Regions from separate parts of the Homo sapiens genome. Here regions 1, 2, 3, 4, 6 and 7 are each linked to region 5. Evidence: promoter capture Hi-C in 16 types of primary human blood cells and fetal thymus (Javierre and others, 2016). All regions are on one chromosome and are shown on one strand. Each heading gives the region's core, a stretch centred on a gene start or on the middle of the fragment in contact. The rest is flanking DNA. Distances are from core to core; before and after follow the strand shown.

Region 1 (3,006 bases), core at 393-2,892, 580 kb before region 5:
AGTAAGTGACTCCATTATTTTATGTGCCCCTAAAAGACAAAAAAGGTCTGCCAATTATGTTTTGACACGGTGTCAATTGTAAGATGCATCCTAGTTCCAGAGATGTGAGAAAATATGTAGCTTAAAGTTATTTCTCCCACCTGATTTTGGGTTCTGAAGGCAGGGATCCGACTTGTTCAACTTTGGCTCTTTCTCACACTTGGTACAATTCTTCATACATATATGATTCATATGTGTTCAACAAATATTTGTTGAATTAAACTGAACAGGTCTGTATTAGTCTGCTCTTGCATTGTAATAAAGAGCTACCTGAGACTGGGTAATTTATGAAGAAAAGTGGTTTAATTGGCTCACATTTCCACAGGCAGTATAGGAAGCATGAATGAGGAGGCCTCAGGAAACTTACAATCATGGCAGAAAGTGAAACGGAAGCAGGCACATCTTACATGGCTGCAGTAGGAGGAAGGTGGGGGTGGGAAGGTGCTGCACACTTTTAAACAACCAGATCTCTTGATAATTCAGTCAACAGCCTGAGAACAGCACCCGGGATGGGGGGATGGCATTAAACCATTAGAAACTGCCCCTATGATCCAATCACCTCCCACCAGGCCCCACCTCCAACACTGAGGATTACAATTGAACATGAGATTTGGGTGGGGACACAGACTGCATCCAAGCCACATCAAGGTCTCTATCTTTACCTATTTTGACACAGCTCCTAATGTCCTACCTCAGACATAGGACATTTCATAGGATGAGAATCTCATCATCTATTTTAGAACCCTGCATAATATAATAAAATAGACCTACTAAGAGCATCAACAAAAATCTCATATTGCCATCTTTTTGTTTATTCTGACTTGAGGACTTAAAGTGTAGAAGGTCTTCCACAATGTGTTTTACGTATAAACTCCATGCCACAGGTTGTTTTCTATCACATTTATGAGAAAGCCAAGAACTGTTTTTAGAAAGTCATTGTTTAGGTAAAATATGATAGTAAAAATAATTTTGAAAGTACAGATATTGTGTTAATTATTTACATATGAGGGTGTGTTTTGAAGGCCACATGCTGTCCCTAACTGTTCTAACCCTTCGAGGGATTTACTTTGGAAGAAAAAACTGGACATCAAGGAATTATTCATATACATTTTCTGTGTTTTCATTTAAGATGGGAAGGGATTTTTCAAGGTTTTCCACGCTTTTATTTGATTTAATTTCATGCTCACTGAAGCCCATTTCCATCACAGTCACCAACACCTTGAACTTGCTGTGATTTTCCCCTGTTAAGCAGCCCAGATGAGATTCAGTGAGATTCTTGGCTTCTAGGCCCCATGTCTTGGAAACAGACCTCACTGCATCAGTGAAGATTCCAGGGCATTCTTCTTACTGATCCGACTAAGCCTTTGAAAATATAATATGACCACTTGGATTTTTCAGCATTAGCTTGAATCTGGCATAAAAGGAGCCAGAGATGTTGGAAGGCTCTGTCGCCTGGGGGTGCAGTGGTTACACCTCATTAGCCCCAGAGCAAGGGCCCCTTTCCCCTTTTTCCTTGGGCCTCTGTATCTTCCCATCCTGGCCTGGGGCTGAGACTGCCTGGGCCTGGGGGAGGGAGCACAGAGTCATCTGAGGCCCTTCCCAGGACAGCCTGTAGACCCACACCCACCCTTACATTCTACAGCAGGGATTTCATCTTTATTTCCATTTTGTCTGATCACGGCTTGTTCTAATTTAAGAACTTAGGTGGATTCTCAGAAAGAAAAAGGTGATGTTCACTGGCATGAACAGTGAATGGTGGAGTGGAACGTGAACAGGCTGGAGCTCTGGCTGTGCCATTTATTAGCCATGTGCCTTTAGAAGGTCCTCATCTTCTCCAGCCTCAGTTTCACCATCTGTAATGGTAGGTAAGAACCTCTACTTCAGAAGGCTGTTGGAAAGACGAAATGGTATGAGACAAAATGAAATAATGACATCCTAAGTGGAAAGGGCTCGCCTGGGGTCTGGTTAACAAGTATCACTGCCTCAGGTAACAGTCTTTCTCAGCAGTGCTGCATACAAACCTCCTCTGGCTTTGACCTTAACAGCCATTGTAGGTCAGTGTTCATAGCAGCCCCCACTCAAGTGAGGGTCCAGCTCTGCAATGAGTTGTGCCTAAGAAGGTCACAGGGGACCAGCCCCTGCTGTGTAGCGCAGGGAGGAGGGCTCTGTCATTTCTGGCCATCATGGCCCTTTGCAGTCAGCCTCAGCCTGAGATAAATATCACACTCTTGCATCTCACTTTATATCTGAGATCATCTGGCCCTGCCCACATCCTCCTCTGCTAAATGAGTAGAACAGACGGACTCTAAAGCTGCAGAATGATTTTAAAAATAAATAAAACCAAATAACAACTTGAGTCTAATGATTTCCCTTCAGGTTGTGCAAGCAGGAAAGTTTAAAATCACATAAGAATGACTTGAGGGAAAAGAACACCCCTTTCTGCTCCCGGTAAACACAATCAGCTTTGCTGGTCTGGGTTTTTTAATGATCTGCATTTACAGGAGTATCCATGACCCAGAGAGAGTATCAGTGTCAAGAATCTGCCAGTGAGAAAGTGATTTGAAGCAGCTCTGGAGTTCAGATGGCCACGGGTGCAAGTGCCTGCTCTGGTGTGCTTTGCCTCTGGAAAGATGCCAAGTCTTTGAGAATCTTTGCTGCATCAGCCATGCTACATCCTGAGGACTTGGAGGTGAGGAAATCCTGTGTGCACTTGTTTCCTTCCCTTCAAATGATATATCCCAGAAAAATGGCAAGCTCTCTGCTTACTAACTCTTTTCTTTTTCTTTAGTTCCCCCTTAGCTTTCTCTCTCCTTTCTTCCGTCTTTCTCTTGCCTCCTTTCATTTTTGGTAAAATCCAAAGCGAAATGTCAACTCAGAGGACATAGCTGTTTGTCTTCACCACCTACAAACTGTATTTCCTGGATCAAGCCGCTTAACTCCATTGAACTGTTTTTAGCATCCTGAAAA
Region 2 (3,092 bases), core at 458-2,957, 610 kb before region 5:
AAGCCACAAATCCAAATGAAAATTTTGTTGAAAATAAGTGAAAATTAACTGACAGAGTAAAAGAAATCAAGTCAATTCCAATATATCACATAACAGCTTCTCAAAATTTCCCCATAAACCCCTGGACAACCATATTTTTCACAATCTGAAAGAATTGCCTACATAGGGCCATGAAAGAAATTCTGGCAAGTAAATAACACCATAAAATTATACTTGTGCCACTCCAACATCTTTATTAAAAAAACTGTTTTTATATCTACTTTAAGGTCAAGAGGGCTTTTCCACAGGCCAACTATAATTAAAAAAAAATTATTCCATAATTTTTAACTAATGAAAACAGATTTATAAATATAAAATATAAGTACATACATGATTTTTGCTGTTTTCTGCAGACTGCATCACATGAAAAAAGAAAATAAGGAAGCGTGTGAGGTTTCTAAAACTACAATCCAGACTTTTAGAAATATTATAAATTGATTTTACCTCTTCATGTATTTTTTATCATCTTCCTTTTGATCAAGCCAGACTTTTTCCGGTTGTGATTTTTTAGATAAATAATATCTGTGTAACTATCAAGGAAACTTTTTAAACAATATTACAGTCATGTAATTTTTACATTACTTATACAAAACGTGTGCTACATAAATGTTATTAATAGTTCCCTTGTCTTCCCAATTAGAAGTGACTACAAGAAACAGCCTCCATGTTTAAATCAAGCTTGTCCAATCCTCTGCCTGCAGGCTACATGTGGCCCAGGACGGCTTCAAATGTGGCCCAACACAAATTCGTAAACTTTCTTAAAACACCATGAGATTATTTTGTGATTTTTTTTTTTTTTTTTGGCTCATCAGCTATCATTAGTGTATTTTATGTGGGGCCCAAGAAAATTCTTCTTCCAGTGTGGCCCAGGGAAGCCAAAAGACTGGACACCCTGGTTTAAATATTTTCTTCCAAAACATATGGAGAATGTAATAGGTAAACTTGGTTGGTTGTCCAAGGCAATTCGGGAATAATTTTCCACATTTCTAAAGCCAACAGAGAAGAATCCAAGGATCTTCTCTACCTTAATAAAAATTGCAAACATTTAGATCAAATCTACCAGAGAACTTCCCTCTTAAAGTTATTAGAACTAGCCTGATGAGGCCAGGCGCGGTGGCTCACACCTGTAATCCCAGCACTTTGGAAGGCCGAGGCAGGCGGATCACAAGGTTAGGAGATCGAGACCATCCTGGCTAACACGGTGAAACCCCATCTCTACTAAAAAACAGAAAAAATTAGCCAGGCGTGGTGGCGGGCGCCTGTAGTCCCAGCTACTCAGAAGGCTGAGGCAGGAGAATGGAGTGAACCTGGAAGGCGGAGCTTGCAGTGAGCCAAGTTTGAGCCACTGCACTCCAGCCTGGGCGACAGAGCGAGACTCCGTCTCAAAAAAAAAAAACAAAAACAAAAAACTAGCCTGATGAAGTACTTTAAGATTAGCCTGAGATATTCTTCACTTAACAAGTATTTATTGGCTATCTACTGCATATGTCAGGTACTATGCTAGGTATAGATGCTGAGAACAAAGATACTCTCATTATTTGTTTCCATATCTAGAAGTGAACCACTGACTACTTAAGTGTTTTATCTAGACAGTGGCCACCAACCACATGTGCATCGCTGGTTTCTGACCAGTGGAAACACTATTTGCATGAACTAGGATGTACTCTAAGTATAAAACACAGTGGATTTTGGCCGGGCGCAGTGGCTCACACCTGTAATCCCAGCACTTTGGGAGGCCGAAGCAGGTAGATCCCGAGGTCAGGAGTTCAAGACCAGCCTGGCCAACATGGTGAAACCCCATCTCTACTAAAGATACAAAAAATCAGCCAGGTGTGGTGGTGTGCGCCCATAATCCCAGCTACTCAGGAGGCTGAGGCAGGAGAATCGCTTGAACCAGGGAGGCAGAGGTTGCAGTGAGCCAAGATCGCACCATTGCACTCCAGCCTGGGTGACAAGGCGAGATTCCGTCTCAAAAAACAAACAAAACAAAACACAGTGGATTTCAAAGACTTAGTACAAAAATGTAAAATTATCTCATTAATGTTTTTATCTTGATTAAATGTTAAAATGAGAATATTTTAAATATTTTAGGTTATATAATATATAGTTAAAATTAATTTCCTTTGTGTTAAATGAGGATATCGGAAAATTTTAAATTATATGTGACTTTCTCTGAATAGCAATAATCTAGGCTATAACTGCAATGTCTGGGGAGAATTAGAGAATAAGAAAGCCTAAATGGGGTTAACCTATGATAATTAAAGGTACAGAGACACTCTAAAATCAACATGGCAATAAGTGGAAATAGTGGGAACAGAGAAATTCTGGCTTAGTAAGGAGAAATCCATAAAATGAAGATGAAGGAGATTAATAAACCACTACTTATTAGACTATGACTAGCTATCTTTATAAATCATAAAATCAGAAATCATTTCATTCAATCCTCTCCTTTTACATGTACGAAAACTGAGCTATAAATAAGGATCCACAAATGTAGGGAAAACATCTTCATTCTATAGTATTTGTTTTGTGCTTTTTATTTAGATTCCTCCCACGTAACACCTGTAAATTATGAAGTGAGAAGAACTTTTACATGTTCCAACTCTGTGCCCTTGGAAAATTAACATCTCTGGGTTTCAGCTTATATAACTTAAAAATGCAAGCTTGGACTTAAGGTTCAAAATGACTTAAATATTCTATCATTTCTACTCAATATTCAGATATCATAAACAGTTGGCTAGTGACAGAAACTCAAAATATGCAATCAGATCTCAGATGTTACAGTAAAACAGAACCTGAGGAAGAAAATGCTGCTTTTTGCATACATAGGTAACATGAAATTATATAATAGCAGTCTGGTGCTGTATAAAATCCATCTAGTAAACAGTGGCCTCTTGTAAATTTTGCATTTATAGATTTTTTTCACCCTGAAACCTGTACTTTCCTCATAATCATTAAAGGATACTCTTCTTCCAACAACATTTTCTCAATAACAGCTCTGTTCTCTTCACTGATGGTGTTATCCAAGGTCCAAGGCTATTAAAAAAGAGAAT
Region 3 (3,058 bases), core at 436-2,935, 630 kb before region 5:
AGGGCAATTCCATTTCCATTCAACCATAGATGGTTAGCTTCAAGAGAACATTTTGTTTTGCTTAATAATGTATCCCAAGTGATCAGAACCGTGCCTGACATATACAGTACACATTCAAAGATACTTGTTGAATAAAGAAAGACCTTTAAATTAGAAAGTGTTTAATCAACACAAAAAGAAACTGAAGGCCAAGATAGATGAGAAAATAGCACAGAAAGAACATCCTGGAGTACTTAAGAACCACGGATATGGAACCGCTGTCAGTGTTTGTTGAGGAACTGCAGAGAATGGGAAAGTTGCTGAAGGACTAGAAATAGACAATTATTGAGCTTGTTTCACAATACAAAAAAGCAGACTGCAGAAAAGGAGGAACTAGATGTTGAACAGTAGTAAAATTCTAGAAAAAATTATGAAACAGCTGATTTGTGATCCTTAACCAAGTGAAGAGGTGACTAAGTAAAATAATGAGTTCATGAAAAGTCATGATAAGTAGACCTTATTGTAGACACTATTGATAGGAATAATCTGTTAGAAACTAAAGACTTAAATATATTTTATCTGAAATTAAACAAGACATCCGATATGATTATCCTTCTGTATAAGATGAAGATATATGCGTTAATTGTGGTAATCTATATAGCTGATTGAAGAATGAATGTCTTCGTTGTTTAAATATATACAATGAGGTTTACATTTATTCAATTAAACATTGCAATCAGTGAGTAATGGCAGGAAAGGCAAGCTTATTGAAATGTTAATGATACAGTGCTACAAAGGCTAAAATGAGAAAAGTGGATCTGGATTCAAAAAGATCCTGAAGACCTTGAACAATGACTTGAAAATCACAATAAATATAAGTCTCACATTTAGAGTCAGAAAATCAATTATCTGGATACTGGATGAGGAGTCCTAGCTTATGGAGGACTATTTTTTACATAGTTTATCTAATTCAGTCTCACGACAACTGTGTAAGTTTTATTTTTACTTTAGAGAGGTAATATATACTGTAATGATTAGGGGTATGAACTCTTAAGCTTAACACTTGGGTTTAAAATCAACAGCTCCACTACTTGACAGCGTGAGCAAGTTATTAAACCTCTCTATGCCTCTCAGTTTCCTCATCTATAAAATGGGAGTGAGAACATTAACTAATGCACAGGGTTGTCATGAAGACTATATGAGCTAATAAATATAAAGTGCTTAAAATACAGCTAACAGTGTTATTTAAATTATTGTTTAATAAATGAGAACCTAAGGATTACCCGAGGACATTTATCAGGCAAAAATATGATCTAGTGGCATTCCTGGATATCTTCTTTTAAAAGGTACACTGACAAAACTACAGTCTATTCAATGGGGCATCTGCAGGAAGAGGGAATAGAAAATCGGAACATTTAACTTATTTGGTGACCCTTAATTTTAAAAGGCTCAAATTTTAGATTACACATGCATTAGAAAACAACAAACCATGCAACAACTTGCTAACAATTAGTACCACCCAAAGAAAACCCAGTCATTTCATGAAGGTTCCTGTCCATAGCGTCTAGAGTTGAATGACCAACCTGTCCTAAACAGGGCCCCTTTACAACATATGTTGGATCATATGTTCAATGAATCTGAACAAATTTAAAATGTTTGTTCAAGGTCTTCCAAATTCATAATCAGTGAAACAAAAAAAATCTAAAAAATTGTAGCAGTATTTTTTTAAACTTAATGTGAACAATATAATGCAGCTATTGAATATTTTTTCATATATTATCTAGCCATTTGTGATAAATGTTTAAAAACCACATTTATATAACACTACACCTTTTTGTTGGTCTTGGCACTTTTAAAGATTTAACAGGTCTGCCTTTTTCCTCTTCTCTTCTTTTTGCCAACTCCTCAGCAGAGAGATGCTAAAACAAAATGCCAATTGATTAAGGAGTCCATCATCTACTAAGAGGCAGAATAAAAATAGTCCTTTAAAATCAAATTGAAGGGCATGTGAGGACAAGAGAGACTAAATTGATATAGATGGGCTTCCTTTTTGCTACCAACATGTAGAAAGACTGGACAGTATTTTTAAAAAATTGTTTCAAAAGACACGGCCATCCCAAACTGAAAATTTACTCCTTCTCTTGATTTGCCCATTTCAATCAATGGTACCAGTCACCCAGGTTCAAAAACGTCAGAATCACCTGAGTCTTTTATTTCCCATTTCTACTTACCATATTCTACTGTGTTGAGTTTTCTTTCACAACTGAGAGACAGTGCAGAGTAATGATTAAGAACAGATTCTGGATCTAGAATGTCTGGCCCAGTTATTTACTAGCTTGGTGACCCTAGGCAAATTCTAAAGCTTTCATGCTTCAGTTACCTCATCTTTAAAAATGGGAACAATAAAATTAATAATAAAAAGTAAACAATAATACCACTGTCATGGTATTATTGTGAAGACTGAGTTAATGTTTATAAAATACTGACATTGTCTGACACACAGTAAGCCCTTTATAAGTGTTTATAAAATAAAGTAAATCTCTATTCCATTTCTACGACCAACTTACACCCTAGTCCAAATGAACTATGCACCTTTTCCAGAATATATCTAGTATTTTCCCATGTCTCCAGCTTTGTTCCCTCAGCCTAAAGTGTATTCATCTCCATTTTGAGATTCTTCTGCAGATCCTTCAGATCAGATTATACCCCACATACTCTACGAAACCTGCCCTGATCACAGCCTTTGGGAGAAACTTACAATTCTTGGGACCAACCTTATTGAACTTACCATAGGTTTTGTCTTTCCTATTAGAAATACAAGCCCCTTATGGGAAGGATGAATTACTAATTACTGTGCCTAGAATAGTACTCAGGTGAGAAGTTGAGGGCAGGGAATGCGGAGGAGGAAAGAGAACTCAAGTTTGAGTACTTTGTGCATGCAAGGCTTACTGAATACCTAGTACTAGCATCTTTATATAGTCTATCTCGTTTCTTTCTTACAACAATACTTTGAGGGAGGTATTATTATTATTCACAATTCGTAAGTTAAAAAAGCATGAGATTCTGTGAGATTAAGTAG
Region 4 (3,239 bases), core at 302-2,801, 650 kb after region 5:
CAAGCGCCATTCGTGATAAGTGCCTTATACAGGGGTACCTTTTTTTATTTTTTGTATTTTGTACCACATTTTTTGTGAAACTTATGTTCTGGCTGGAGGCAGCTGATAATAAACCAATAAACCAAAAATTAAAAATCAGATAATTCAGAGAATTATCCAGAAAAATAAAATAAAGCTATGTGAAAGAAAGTGACTGGTGTCTGCTTGAGGTTTGGTGACCTAGGAGGGTCTTGTGAGCAGGAATAGCAATTTACCCCTGAATGCCAAGAAGGAGCCAGAAATAGAGCTAGTTATAGTTGAGGGGAGGGGGAAGCATTCCATGAAGAAGGACTAGATAGTGTAAAGATTCGCCTAAAAGATTCTTCTCCTAAAATGGGAAGAATCTTGGCATATTCCTGTGGCGGGGCAGAGTGTGTGAAGGAGAGGGAGGAGTGGGGCAATGTTTCAGGGTTGGAGGATAGACATCAGGTAGGACAAGGAATGTGTAAGCCAGGGTCAGTTTGGTTTATATTTTAAGTTTGATTAGAAGCCGTTGAAGCTTTTTAATCAAGGAGTGACATGATCTGATTTTTTTTTTCTGCTAAATTTCCTTAAAGATTGTGGACTGTAGGTGTGAGAGCAGAAGTAGGAGAGACAGGTTAGGAGATCATTGCAGTGAACAGGTTGGTGGATGGCATTGGCTTAGATTAGCAGTAGCAGAGGGAGGGAAGAAAAGCAGATGGAATTCAAGAAATGTTTTTGGAAGTAGAGTTAAAACGAGCTTGTTGATGAGAAGAGAGTAATAAAAAATAATGATAATAACAATCATATCTTTTAAGAACCTACTATGTGCTGGGCACAGAGTAACTCACTTAACTGCATAACCATCCTCTGAAGTAGGTACTCTTATGAACCCCGTTTTACAAAATGAAGAAACTAAAGGTAAAGTATCTAATTTTTAACAACTAAGTAAAAATAGTTAATGTTTCAATTTTGGGTGGTGGTGCTATTTGTTGATATGAGAAAAAAATGAAAGGAGAACAGGTTTAAGTGGAACAATAAAGAATTCTCTTCTGGCCATTTTAAATTTGATGTATTTATTAGTTATCCAAGTGGACGTGTCAAGTAGAAAGCTGATTATTCAGGTCTGATGATTTAGGAAGAAGTATTTTTAGGTCACAGGACTGGACGAAATCACCTAGGAAGAATATAGAGAGAGAATCAAGAGGTACTGAAAGACTCTTAGATCTGCCAAAGCTTAGAAGTAGAAGAGAGGAGAAGGAGCCAGCAAGAGCCCTGAAATAAAGACCAGCCGAATGGAGAAAGAGAGAGGAAACCTTTCATAACTGCTAGCAGGAGGGCCTGGAAGTACAACTCGTCCTCACCCCTGGTGATTAGCTGATGTTTTCTGGGCACATAGATTTCTTGTGAGAAAATACGGATGGAGAGAGAGGAATATGTTGTTGGGGCAATGCAGAGATTAGCACGAGTGGTCAGAATTAGACAGGCTACAGGTAAACAAGTCCAGGAAAGTATGGTCTGTAGTTGAAGTTTAGCAAGGAAACAGTCAATTTTAGCAAGTTCGATGAGTATATGCCATGATTTTGGGTTTAGCAAGATAACTGAGTTCAAGAGCTTTCAAAAGTATTGCAGAAAATATCTGAAGCAGTTTTTTTTTTTTCCCCCCACAAAGGGTTGTAGGGAAAGAAGGGAAAGTCCGACATCATCACCAAGGATGTAAGAGAAAAGATCTTCAAAAAGAAGGGATTGGTCAGTGTGTTGAATTTGCGGAGAAAAAATGAGATAAGAACAGAGAAGTGGTACTTGGAGTTATCAGTGTGGAAGTCACTGGTGATCTCAGAGTATCTCAGTTGAGTGGCTAGAAAGGAAGCTTGATTGTGGTATGCTGAAGAAATGGGAGTTGAAGTGGAGACAGCAACTAAAGGTAATTCCTTCAAAATGTAGCTTCATATATACATATATGCATTTGTATACTTAGTGGCCCCTTTAATGTACAAATTGTTGCTTGCTTGCTAGAGATATGATCCTAAGCCTTGCAATTCTAGTTTAATAAAATATCTTAGCCGTTTAAGTATGTATAGATTTCTATAGTTTAAAAAATGACTACCTATAATGTCTCATACAATGAGCATTGGTATTGTGTCTAGCTGTCTAAAGTTATAAACAATGCTTCAGAGAAGGTGTTTGTAGTCATATTTATTTATTTATTTTGAGACAGGGTCTCACTTTGTCACCCAGGCTGGAATACAATGGTGTGATCTCGGCTTACTGCAGCTTCAACTTCCCAGGCTCAAGAGATCCTCCCGCCTCAGCTCGCCAAGTAGCTGGGACTACAGGCATGCGCCACCACGGCTGGTTAATTTTTGTATTTTTAGTAGAGCCGGGGTTTCACCATGTTGGACAGGCTGGTCTTGAACTGCTGGACTCTAGTGATCTGCCCACCTTGGCCTCCCAAATTACCGGGATTACAAGCATGAGCCACTGTGCCTGGCCTAAAAATTCTTGAGTATGTCTGTAGGACAAATTCATAAAAGGAGAACTATTGGGCAAAAGGGTATTTTCATTTAAATACCGATAAATATGACTGGATTTCCTTGCCAAGAGTCTCTATTTCCTACGTACAAGAATATCTGTTTCTTCCTTGCTTGCCAATTCAGAGCTTGTGGTTATTTGCCAGTTGGATTAGTAAAAAATGACATTTAGTTTCAATTTTATTATTTATTATTTTTAATTACATTATTTTAAAGGTCAAAAAATTTTAAATTTCAAAAAATGCATTATTTTAATTGCATTATTTTAAATGCCACTTTAAAAAAAGCCATTTGCATTTATTTTTTTTCTGAAATCATGACCCTCACCCAGATTTCTTCTATTGGGTAGTTGATACTTTTCTTGTTGGCTTGTATATCCCATAATACACTAAGATAACTAGATATTTATCTATTATTTATGTTGCTAGTATTTTCTTTACATTTTTTCTGGTCTTTGACCTTGACTATAGTATTTTTACCATGTAGAAATTTTGTTTTTAAAATGTAGCCAGAATTATCAAACTTTTTTGGGGAGTGGGGCTTCACAGCTTTGTGTCATGCTTAATTGACACAATTAAGAAAATGGTTAAAAAAATGGTTAAGAACAGCATTTTTACTGCAATAATATTATGTCGCCAGATTTTCTCTGAATTCTTTTGTGGTTTAATTTTTGCTGTAATATTTTTGGCCCATCTGACACTATTTTGT
Region 5 (3,222 bases), core at 353-2,852:
TATGTCTTACCACATTTGTTCTTCATAATGTTCTGAAAAGGTAAGATGAATACATCTTATTATTCCTATTGAACACTTGATTCACACAGCTGCTAAGTAACAGATTCCAACGAGTCTATAGCTAGGTCTTTGGGTATGTTGCTGGTAATGAAAAGGTGAACAATCATGGTGCAGAAGAAAGAAAATGAGCCAAACCAGGATCCCTGGTAGAGTTGTAGTGCAAAGACTGGGGTTAATTGTGTGGCCTCAGCCTCACTGGGCTGTTCTCCTCACCTGTAAGACCAAGATAAGAGCACTTATTTACTTCGGGGTTGTTGTGAAGATAGCAGACAATCTTAGTGCACCTGCCACTTAAGATCCGTTCAGTGAAATTATTACCTTTCACAGGTGTGTCTTTGGAAAATCACTTCCCTTTCCTGGATCTCAGTTTTCTTTTCTAGGAAAACAACATGTTTGGACTCAGCGACTGCTAAACTGTCTCCCAAACCTCGAACTCCCTCAGCCTGGGATCCTGCCTTTTATGAAAATAGTTCGGATTGGAGCTCAGGTTGGAATTCTCGCTTTAGTTGCTTGCTAGCTGTGTGTCCCAGTAAAAGCTAAAAATTTCGGATTCCCCACATCTGTAGAATAGGGATACATAACATGCAGCTTATTAGAAAGGGAAGGCATGTGAGAATTAAATTAGGTCCGTGTCCAGTACCCACTAAATTGTAAAAACTTCTCAAAGGCAGGGACCCATCTGTTTTGTAGATTTACAGAATGTCATACGTTGAAGTACGGGGGTTCGCCACGGGATTAGAAAATTTCTGTAGAGTAAGGAACAAGACACAAGGTAAGCATTCAAGAATTGTAACCATGCAATATTCTTATTTCTTACAGTCGCCTACAACAGTCCTGGTGTTTAGTAAACGGTCTGACACACACACCCATCAGGGGCTGCGGAGAGTCCGCCTGGGTAAGCTCCGCAAGGTGAGTCCCCAGAGCCGGGAACTCGCAGCCTGAGCAGACGCAGCGTAGCCGATCTTGGGTCCGCGCTCCTCCCGCCTTGCCCAGCCCTGCCCGCGGTTGGCTAGGCCCCAGGGAACGCTGCAGCCGCGGGGTGGGCAGGCGACGGCCAATCCCACGCCCGGTTCAAAGGGCCAATCAGGCCGCGCTTTACAGGGGCCGCGCTTTACAGGGGCCGCGCTTTACAGGGGCCGCGCTTTACAGGGGCCGCGCTTTACAGGGGCCGCGCTTTACAGGGGCCGCGCTTTACAGGGGCCGCGCTTTACAGGGGCCGCGCCGGCGGGGGCGGGATCGCGCGCAAGGCGGGGCTGTAGCCGCCCCGGGACCGCCCTGCTCAGGCGCCGTGGGGTTCGGCGCGGCTACGTGCAGAATCCGTCTAGCTAAAATGTAATTTCAGATTGGACAAGTACTGTAAGTGACCCTCCTCTCAGTCCCACGTGGGCGCTGGGGGCTTTTGCTGGTGCGCAGGCTCTTAGCGCGCACGCCCAGAAAGAGGCTTCTCCAACCCGGCCCGGCCCTTCCTTCCCCTTTCCCGCAGTCGTTGCCTCCTCCTCCCCTGCCTCCTCCTCCCCTTCCTCCTCCTGGCCGCTTAGTCTCACACCCGCCGGGCCGTTGTTCCCGAGACGTTGTTGAGTCCCCTGTGTCCTCTTCTGGGTGAGGCGTCCGGCCACTTAAGGGAAGGGAAGGGAAGGGTCGGCCTTGACTGCATCCCCAAGGCTGCCTATTAGGTGTCTGGAACCCGTGCTGCTTCCTCTCCGATCAGTGCCCACTTATCTGTATTCAGTACTCTTTCTCTCCTCCCCTTACCCTTGTAGGACATTTTCCTGGCATTTGAGGAGCCTTTAATTCACGTCTGGCTACCGAAGGCATTTTTAGGCTAGTGTTGCTTGTAGATTTAAACGCTTCCAGCACTTGTGATAATGTTTGAGGCACAGCTGAGTTTAGATGAGATAATGCTGTTTGGTTACAGTTATCCTGAGTAGAAAGGCCTAGGGATATCTTTTCATTTTTAGCCGTTTCCTTTTTATTTAAAGATTGACAAGGGGCCGGGCGCGGTGGCTCACGCCTGTAATCCCAGCACTTTGGGAGGCCAAGGCGGGTGGATCACGAGGTCAGGAGATCGAGACCATCCAGGCTAACACGGTGAAACCCCCGTCTCTACTAAAAATACAAAAAATTAGCCGGGCGTGGTGGCGGGCGCCTGCAGTCCCAGCTTCTCGGGAGGCTGAGGCAGGAGAATAGCGTGAACCCAGGAGGCGGAGCTTGCAGTGAGCTGAGATCGTGCCACTGCACTCCAGCCTGGGGGACAGAGCGTCTCAGAAAAAAAAAAAAAAAATTGACAAGGTGCAAAATGGTGAATTTCCCTCATCATGGGCTGTTTTCCACTAAAGCACTTCTGTGTCTTAACACAAATTTCTTCCCCGAAGAGTCAGTCATGACATGACCAAAGTCTGAAAAGCAGTTAATCCTTAGGTTAAATTTTAAAGTATGAGACCAGGAGGGGTGAGGTGCTTATTCTTTTGACTTGTAAATCAGAATGAAAGAAGGGAAAGTCTTTTATTTTGTGGCTGTTATTTAAATGGTAGAGTTTTGCTTTGTATAGTTTTTGCTTGCTTTTCCTCTTTTTTTTCTATGATCCACCACGTGTATGTCCTGATTTTTTTCCTTTTTAACTTGCTTGCTGGATTTTCCAGCCAGATGACTGCCGCTTGGTCTTCTGGGAGTCTCCTGTTAATGGGGCCCTCATGCTTGGCTCTTGACCTGATGGCCACTGGCCTGGCTCTTGGAGGACCTCCTAGTGGGAGGCCCAGAGCACTGTTATTAAGGATGATTGGGGGAACAGATCAGAGGGGGTCAGCTGGGCCTGGAGATCAATTTTGAGGGGGAGGGAGGTTGGGAGCCTGCCTGGCTGGATTTGGAAGTCAAAACATGTGTGCTGGGAGAAGGGCATAACCCCAGAGGGTGGAGAGCCATGTCTTTCTGGATAAAATTAATAAGTTTACTGGGAGGAGGCTGGGCCTTCCAGGCTGTGTTAGTTTTTGTTGTGGGCCTTGGCTTTTCCTGGAATTTGGTTCCCTTTCCCTAACCTTTCACTTATTAGTTTAAATAGTTCCCTTTACCTAACCTTTCACTTATTGATTTAAATAGTTTAAATCACAGTCAATTACCAGCTGGTTTTTAAAATAATTTGAGGTAATGAATCTTGCCCTTAATCTC
Region 6 (3,160 bases), core at 58-2,557, 560 kb before region 5:
CGAGACAAAGGGCATTTTAAGCAGAGACAACAGCATAAGCACAAGGCCTTGCATTATGGCAGAAGGGCCAAGATGAGGTCAAGTTGCACAGATAATGTAAGGGAAGACTTCCCATAAGAAGTTTTGAATGCATTGAAATACGTAACTCGTCATTCATTACTTCGGTAATTCAACAGTTATTTATTGAGTGCCTTTACATGTCAGGTAACATGTTACAAAACTGGAATTGGAAATTACTCAAATCCTATGTCAAAATATCACTGCATAGGCTGGGCTCAGTGGCTCGTGCCTGTAATCCCAGCACTTTGGGAAGGCAAGGCAGGTGGAACACTTGAGGTCAGGAGTTCGAAACTAGTCTGGCCAACATGGTGAAACCCCGTCTCTCCTAAAAATACAAAAGTTAGCCAGGTGCAGTGGCACATGCCTGTAATTCCAGCTACTTGGGAGGCAGGAGAATCGCTTGGACCAGGGAGGCGGAGGTTGCAGTGAGCCGAGATTGTGCCACTGTACCGCAGCCTGGGTGACAGAGTGAGACACTGTCTCAAAAAAAAAAAAAAAAAAGAAAAAAAAATCTCTGCTTATATCTAGAACTTCCTCTCCTCCTTTAAAACAAACAAGTCTGAGAGGCCAGGTGCGGTGGCTCACGCCTGTAATCCCAGCACTTTGGGAAGCCGAGGTGGGCGGATTATGAGGTCAGGAGATTGAGACCATCCTGGCTAACACAGTGAAACCCCGTCTCTACTAAAAAATACAAAAAATTAGCCAGGTGTGGTGGCGGGCGCCTGTAGTCCCAGCTACTCGGGAGGCTGAGGCAGGAGAATGTCGTGAACCCGGGAGGCAGAGCTCGCAGTGAGCCGAGATCACGCCACTGCACTCCAGACTGGGCGACAGAGTAAGACTCCGTCTCAAAAAATTAATAAATAAATAAAAAAGAGTGTCCCGCAGAACAACAGTTCCTTGGGATATTAACAGGTAAAACAAACAAGTCTGTACAATTTTGTCTCATTGGCAAAACTAGCAGCTAAAGTCCCTTAGCTGGCTTTTGAGTGAAATAAACTATGAATACTTATAATAGATTAAGAGGCAAGCATAAGGGAAAGTAAAGATAAGCAGAGAAAAGTGACAATATCTTTGGGCTGGGGAGGGCCTTGTCTGTCATATGGTTCAACCTGTTTATTCTGCTGAGTTCTGGAGTGAAGGGACTTGCCCAAGCTCTCTTCATTCCCTGTATTGGTTCCTTTCTTCTCATACTCCCTGCCAGGGTCTGCCTTCAGTGTCTCATCATGTTTCGCTTGGATTGTTATAGTAGCCTTCAAACAAATCTCCCCGCTTTTACACAGCAGCTCAGAGATAATTCAGAAAAGCAACTTCTGGATTTTACTTTGTTCCTCAAAGCCGTTCAATATCTTCATGTTGTCTCAGGTTGTGCTCCCCAAACTGTTGTATGTGACCAGGTCCCAGAGCCATAAGCTAAACATAATATCACTTTAAAATGCTAATTTTACGTGATGGCTAGTAACTAAAAACATCATTTTACATGAAAACAAATGAATATATTATAGCCAAGATGAAAAATTTGGATGGGCTGAAATATTTCAAAGAATTTTTTTTTAGTTGTAGCAGTTGGTGTCAGAACCCTTGCATATTAGTTCATACTCATATTACTATAAAGAAATGCCTGAGACAGGGTAATTTACAAGAAAAGAGGTTTAATTGGCTCACAGTTCTGCAGGCTGTACTGGAAGCATGGTGGCATCTGCTTCCGGGGAGTCCTCAGGGAGATTTTCATCATGGCAGAAGGCAAAGAGGGAGCAGGCACTTCACATGGCAAAAGCAGGAGCAAGAGAGAGGGAAGGGGGAGGTGCCACACACTTTGAAACCACCAGATCTCATGAGAATTCACTCACTGTCCTGAGGACAGTACCAAGGGGACAGTACTAAAACATTCATGAGAAATTGTCCCTATGATCAATCACCTCCCACCAGGCTCCACCTCCAACATTGGGGATCACAGCTCAACATGAGATTTGCAGAGGGAACACAGATCCAAACATATTACCTTAGCAGCACAAGTTTGCTCTTTCCGCCATAAGAGGTGTTTCAGTGGGAAAGTTTATAATTTCTTGGCCCATAGAATAAATGCCAAGTCATTAGTTCATATCCCAGTTTCTCCAAGATCTGTTCAGGCCTGCTTGCCACTCACCCTCTTCTCTTTAATAGATTCTTGGAGACTCCACTCATCAACCATCCCATACCACTTGTATTAGTTTGTTCTTGCATTGCTATAAAGAAATACCTGAGACTGGGTAATTTATAAGGAAAAGAGGGTTTAATTGGCTCATGGTTTCACAGGCTGTAAAGGAAGCATGATGCTGGCATCTGCTCAGTTTCCAGGGAGGCCTCAGGAAACTTTTAATCATGGTCGAAGGTGAAAGGGAAGCAGGGATGTCTTACATGGTCAGAGAAGGAGCAAGAGAGAGAGGGGAGAGGTGCTACACACCATTACACAACCAGATCCCATGATAACTCACTGGCTCACTACACAGTACCAAGGGAGGATGGTGCTAAACCATTCATGAGAATTTCACCCCCATGATCCAACCACCTCCAACACTGAGGATTGCTATTCAGCACGAGATTTGGGCAGGAACAGAGATCCAAACCATATCACCACTTAAAATAGTAACTACTGCCGGGCACGGTGGCTCACGCCTGTAATCCCAGCACTTTGGGAGGCCGAGTTGGGTGGATCACCTGAGGTCAGGAGTTCGAGACCAGCCTGACCAACATGGAAAAACCCCATCTCTACTAAAAATACAAAATTAGCCGTGCATGGTGGCACATGCCAGTAATCCTAGCTACTTGGGAGGCTGAGGCAGGAGAATTGCTTGAACCCAGGAGGTGGAAGTTGCAGTGAGCTGAGATCGCACTATTGCACTCCAGCCTGGGCAACAAGAGCGAAACTCCATCTCAAAAAAAGAAAATAGTAATAATAACTACTATAGTCTCCAAGGTTTAGTAAAAAATGAAAACCACTGTAGGTATCTCAAACAGGAATAAATTTTATACAGGAAATTAGAAGCTTACAAAACCATTAGAAGAACCGGCAGAACAAAGGTTAGGCGAGCCAACTGCCAGTGTTCAGGACGTCAGGAAGCGC
Region 7 (3,070 bases), core at 163-2,662, 760 kb before region 5:
TAATTGAGCCACAGGGCACATAACATGTGTATGTGCTATGAACTGGAGAGAAAATGACCTCTGTCCCTAAGAAACTCACTAGGGTACAAAATGTTTAACTACCTGAGTTACTATACTTTCCAAAGAGGTAAGACTTCTAAATTATAACTTAAATTTGGATTCAAAAAATATAATAAATTGCTAAAACTGATGTTTGGGAAAAAAATCTTATATTACTTGATTTTCAAGGTATAAGAATTCTGACTATAAATCTATTTATTCAATAAATATATACTAAGCTCTACTCTTACATACTGTGTTAGTATTTAAAACCATAAACAAAACAGGTAAGATCCCTGCCCCCATGAAGCTTAGTCTAACAAGAAAGACAATCAAAAAAATAATTATGCAAATAATTATGTTACTCTCATGAGTGCTTTGAAGGAAAAGTACAGTATGCAGAGAAAAAAAGCCTAGGAGACCTAACCCCAGTAAAGCCAAGCAATGGGCGCAACTACAAATGAGCTGGTTCATAATTCAGTCGGTATGAAGGATACCTCCTAGGGCCTGATCCAGTCACCCTGCCTAACCCAGTCTGGATAATCAAGGAAGGTTTTCCTGAGAAAAGTGACATTTAAGGTGAAATGTGCTGAGCAGGAGTTAGCTGGGTGAATGCTAGGAAAAGCAATGTAGGCAGTAGGAATACTAAGTGTGAAAGGTCTGAGGCCTTCGGGAAAAAAAAATGCTAATTTCATATCAAAGACTAAAATTAAAAAACAACATATCTTTCACATTTAAGATACTTTCCTACTTTGAGTGTTATATTAAGCAGTCTAATTAAAAACAACTCTTACTACTTACTGCTTCATATTCCAGTTCCGATAAAAGTCTGAACTGTTCTTTCCCCAATAATAGTAGCTTGCTCCTTCCTGTGATTGGACTTACTTCCAGGTGAGTAAAATAAAACACCACAAAGAGCAATCCAAAACTACTCAAACCAAGGAATAGCTTCCATTTATTCTTCCTTATATTTTCTTTAACTACTTCCTTCTTGTTAGGAGGAAGTGCCTGCCACCATTTCCTTATGCCCCTAAAGCAAAAAGAAAAATTCAAAGTTCTGAAAATCATTCCAGCACATATCACTAAAGCTCAAATGCATACACTAGAATTTTACGTCCTCAAATACCTGAATTTGTATGATGTATTTCGCTGAATACATCGCTTTTCCAATTAATAAAATTCTTAGCTAAATGATGAAAAAATAATCAATGATGTAAAGTTACAGTTAAAAAATTCTAATACTCATCGAAATTTTCTTCTTCAGCTATTTTAAGGATAAACACTAAATGAGATGCTAGTTTACTATAACTACCACTGGTTAATATTTATTACTATCTAGTACATGCAAAATTCTCTCTCTCTCTCTCTCTCTCTGTATATATATATATACCATCTCATTTAATCTTCATAATAACCCTGTTACAGAAGATAAAATTGTTAGGTAACTTGTCCATGGCCACTGAGGTAATAAAAGGAAAACCAAGCAATGAAGGCAATGACATTCCAGAGTCTGACCACTTAGCCACTTAATAGGGATAAATGCCTAAATAATTATGTAAGAGGTTACAGTACAATAAATCTATACCTGGAACCACTACTTTTCCCACTGCTCCTCAGACCTCCAACACAATTTGCCAGTGATTCCACAAGGTACAAGGGAAACTGCCTCAGCATTCATTTTGGAAATAAATAGTGCTCAGTAGCAGAAACTCCACTATCCTCTTTACAACGTGAAAAAGGAGAGATAACAAGATCCTAGGTATTCATAAGAAAGTGGGAGATTTTATAGATAACATCTGAGAAGGTCCAATTTCTACCAGGCAACAATACTCTCTGCCACTTAGCAGTGTTCAGAAACATTTTGACAACAAGCAATGTTTTCAATACTGGGACAAAAATTTTCCTTATGAGTTGATCTGTAAAATCACAACAAAAATTTACCATATATACATCATTCTCTTGACAAAAATTTATTTTACAAATTCTTAAAGTTCTCTTTGTGAAGTGACACACCCCAATGCCTTTACACAAAGTGTGTCCATTTAAAGGGACATAAATCAAACTATCGAGTATACTTATTTCCTATTTAAAACTTTACATGACATTATCCTTTATTTAAAATGTATGAAAGACATATTCTAAATGAAAAATTTTAGGTGATCAACAATAGTAACAAAAACAAGAAAGTTACAAATAAATAATTTAAAAGGATGAGGACATAGCAGAAATCAGAAAGAGCATCCGAAGAACCTGGGATGAGCGTATTACTTCAACCAATAGTCAATACAGCTGTATCGCTTTTGGGTGCCAACACCAAATCATGAAAAACACAATAAGTTACAAATAGAAGTTCTTGGTTTTTGATCAAAAGCAAACTGGTTTGGTTCATGTGGTAGTAAGAAGGCTAGAAGGGACTTCACAGTCATCAAACACAAGAAAGCTTTATGAAGAAACAGTGATTAGCTTTCTTCCATCTTCATAAAACAAACAAGAGAAAAAGGGTTAAAGCACTACAAGCTGTGAAAATATTATTATAAAGGATCACCAAGGAAAAAAACAAAGATTTGTTGGGAACAGAATAGAAAGAAAAGAAGCATTAATGACTTAAGAGTTAACTAGGAGTGAGCCCACCCTTATATAAGCAAAGTTCCTCAATTTTATGATTTGCTGCCTTAAATTCCACAAATTAAAAAGAAATGTTTGTAAGTACTCTTCTTATACATAAGTGATAACCAGCACTTCTGATCCATATATCCTAAGATTTTGTAGTCATAAATATAAGATTTTTTTAATGCCTATACAAAATGTAAGAATAACTTTTTAAAGAGATATTTCTATACCATAAATTAGTATGCAGGAAATTGTTTCAAGATTATTAAATCATACAGAACAAAATTGGGCAGGACCTACTGTTTAGAAACTTCACTTTGAGCTAAATGGGGGGAGACAGGGGATCTGGCAAGGTTTCTTTAAAAGTACAGTTTTATAAATAAAAAAATTAATTTCTAAAAGTTAATACGTTAGCACAAAA

Evidence for each region. Contacts are between HindIII fragments. The CHiCAGO score rates a contact against its expected background, and 5 or more counts as called.
Region 1: a fragment that was not itself captured here is called in contact with the fragment with the promoter of FGGY in region 5 in 8 of 17 cell types (non-activated CD4 T cells, total CD8 T cells, naive CD8 T cells and 5 more); the score reaches 9.4 in non-activated CD4 T cells.
Region 2: a fragment that was not itself captured here is called in contact with the fragment with the promoter of FGGY in region 5 in 6 of 17 cell types (naive B cells, total B cells, total CD8 T cells and 3 more); the score reaches 9.5 in naive B cells.
Region 3: a fragment that was not itself captured here is called in contact with the fragment with the promoter of FGGY in region 5 in 3 of 17 cell types (M0 macrophages, M1 macrophages and M2 macrophages); the score reaches 5.8 in M0 macrophages.
Region 4: a contact is called between a fragment that was not itself captured here and the fragment with the promoter of FGGY in region 5, in 1 of 17 cell types (M0 macrophages). The highest score is 5.0, in M0 macrophages.
Region 6: a fragment that was not itself captured here is called in contact with the fragment with the promoter of FGGY in region 5 in 17 of 17 cell types (M0 macrophages, M2 macrophages, naive CD8 T cells and 14 more); the score reaches 20.0 in M0 macrophages.
Region 7: a contact is called between a fragment that was not itself captured here and the fragment with the promoter of FGGY in region 5, in 3 of 17 cell types (neutrophils, naive CD8 T cells and non-activated CD4 T cells). The highest score is 5.6, in neutrophils.

The regions. Positions count from the first base shown.
Region 1 is chr1:58,716,021-58,719,026 of GRCh38, forward strand. LOC112268263 (a long non-coding RNA gene) reads left to right here. Exons shown (of 9, transcript XR_007066129.1): 4 at 1,737-1,900; 5 at 2,541-2,728. Among named protein-coding and RNA genes, the nearest start is that of MYSM1, 17 kb to the left of the region's middle. The HindIII fragment of the contact is 5,773 bases long and covers 1-3,006 here.
Region 2 is chr1:58,689,857-58,692,948 of GRCh38, forward strand. It overlaps MYSM1 (Myb like, SWIRM and MPN domains 1), which reads right to left. Exons shown (of 20, transcript NM_001085487.3): 3 at 3,005-3,075; 4 at 484-561; 5 at 370-393. Among named protein-coding and RNA genes, the nearest start is that of MYSM1, 8.7 kb to the right of the region's middle. The HindIII fragment of the contact is 1,985 bases long and covers 716-2,700 here.
Region 3 is chr1:58,670,061-58,673,118 of GRCh38, forward strand. MYSM1 (Myb like, SWIRM and MPN domains 1) reads right to left here. Exons shown (of 20, transcript NM_001085487.3): 12 at 1,810-1,898. Among named protein-coding and RNA genes, the nearest start is that of MYSM1, 28 kb to the right of the region's middle. The HindIII fragment of the contact is 1,307 bases long and covers 1,033-2,339 here.
Region 4 is chr1:59,942,030-59,945,268 of GRCh38, forward strand. It overlaps a transcript of CYP2J2 not described here. Among named protein-coding and RNA genes, the nearest start is that of CYP2J2, 17 kb to the left of the region's middle. The HindIII fragment of the contact is 634 bases long and covers 1,235-1,868 here.
Region 5 is chr1:59,295,492-59,298,713 of GRCh38, forward strand. It overlaps FGGY (FGGY carbohydrate kinase domain containing), which reads left to right and starts at 1,603. Exons shown (of 16, transcript NM_018291.5): 1 at 1,603-1,659. It overlaps FGGY-DT (FGGY divergent transcript), which reads right to left and starts at 1,059. Exons shown (of 2, transcript XR_001738089.2): 1 at 878-1,059; 2 at 1-273. RefSeq lists silencers at 1,005-1,544, 1,555-1,644 and an enhancer at 3,062-3,222. The HindIII fragment of the contact is 6,368 bases long and covers 1-3,222 here.
Region 6 is chr1:58,732,599-58,735,758 of GRCh38, forward strand. The region is part of intron 5 of LOC112268263 (a long non-coding RNA gene); the gene reads left to right. Among named protein-coding and RNA genes, the nearest start is that of MYSM1, 34 kb to the left of the region's middle. The HindIII fragment of the contact is 3,546 bases long and covers 1-3,080 here.
Region 7 is chr1:58,535,673-58,538,742 of GRCh38, forward strand. OMA1 (OMA1 zinc metallopeptidase) reads right to left here. Exons shown (of 9, transcript NM_145243.5): 3 at 841-1,069. It also overlaps a transcript of DAB1 not described here. Among named protein-coding and RNA genes, the nearest start is that of OMA1, 9.5 kb to the right of the region's middle. The HindIII fragment of the contact is 2,130 bases long and covers 348-2,477 here.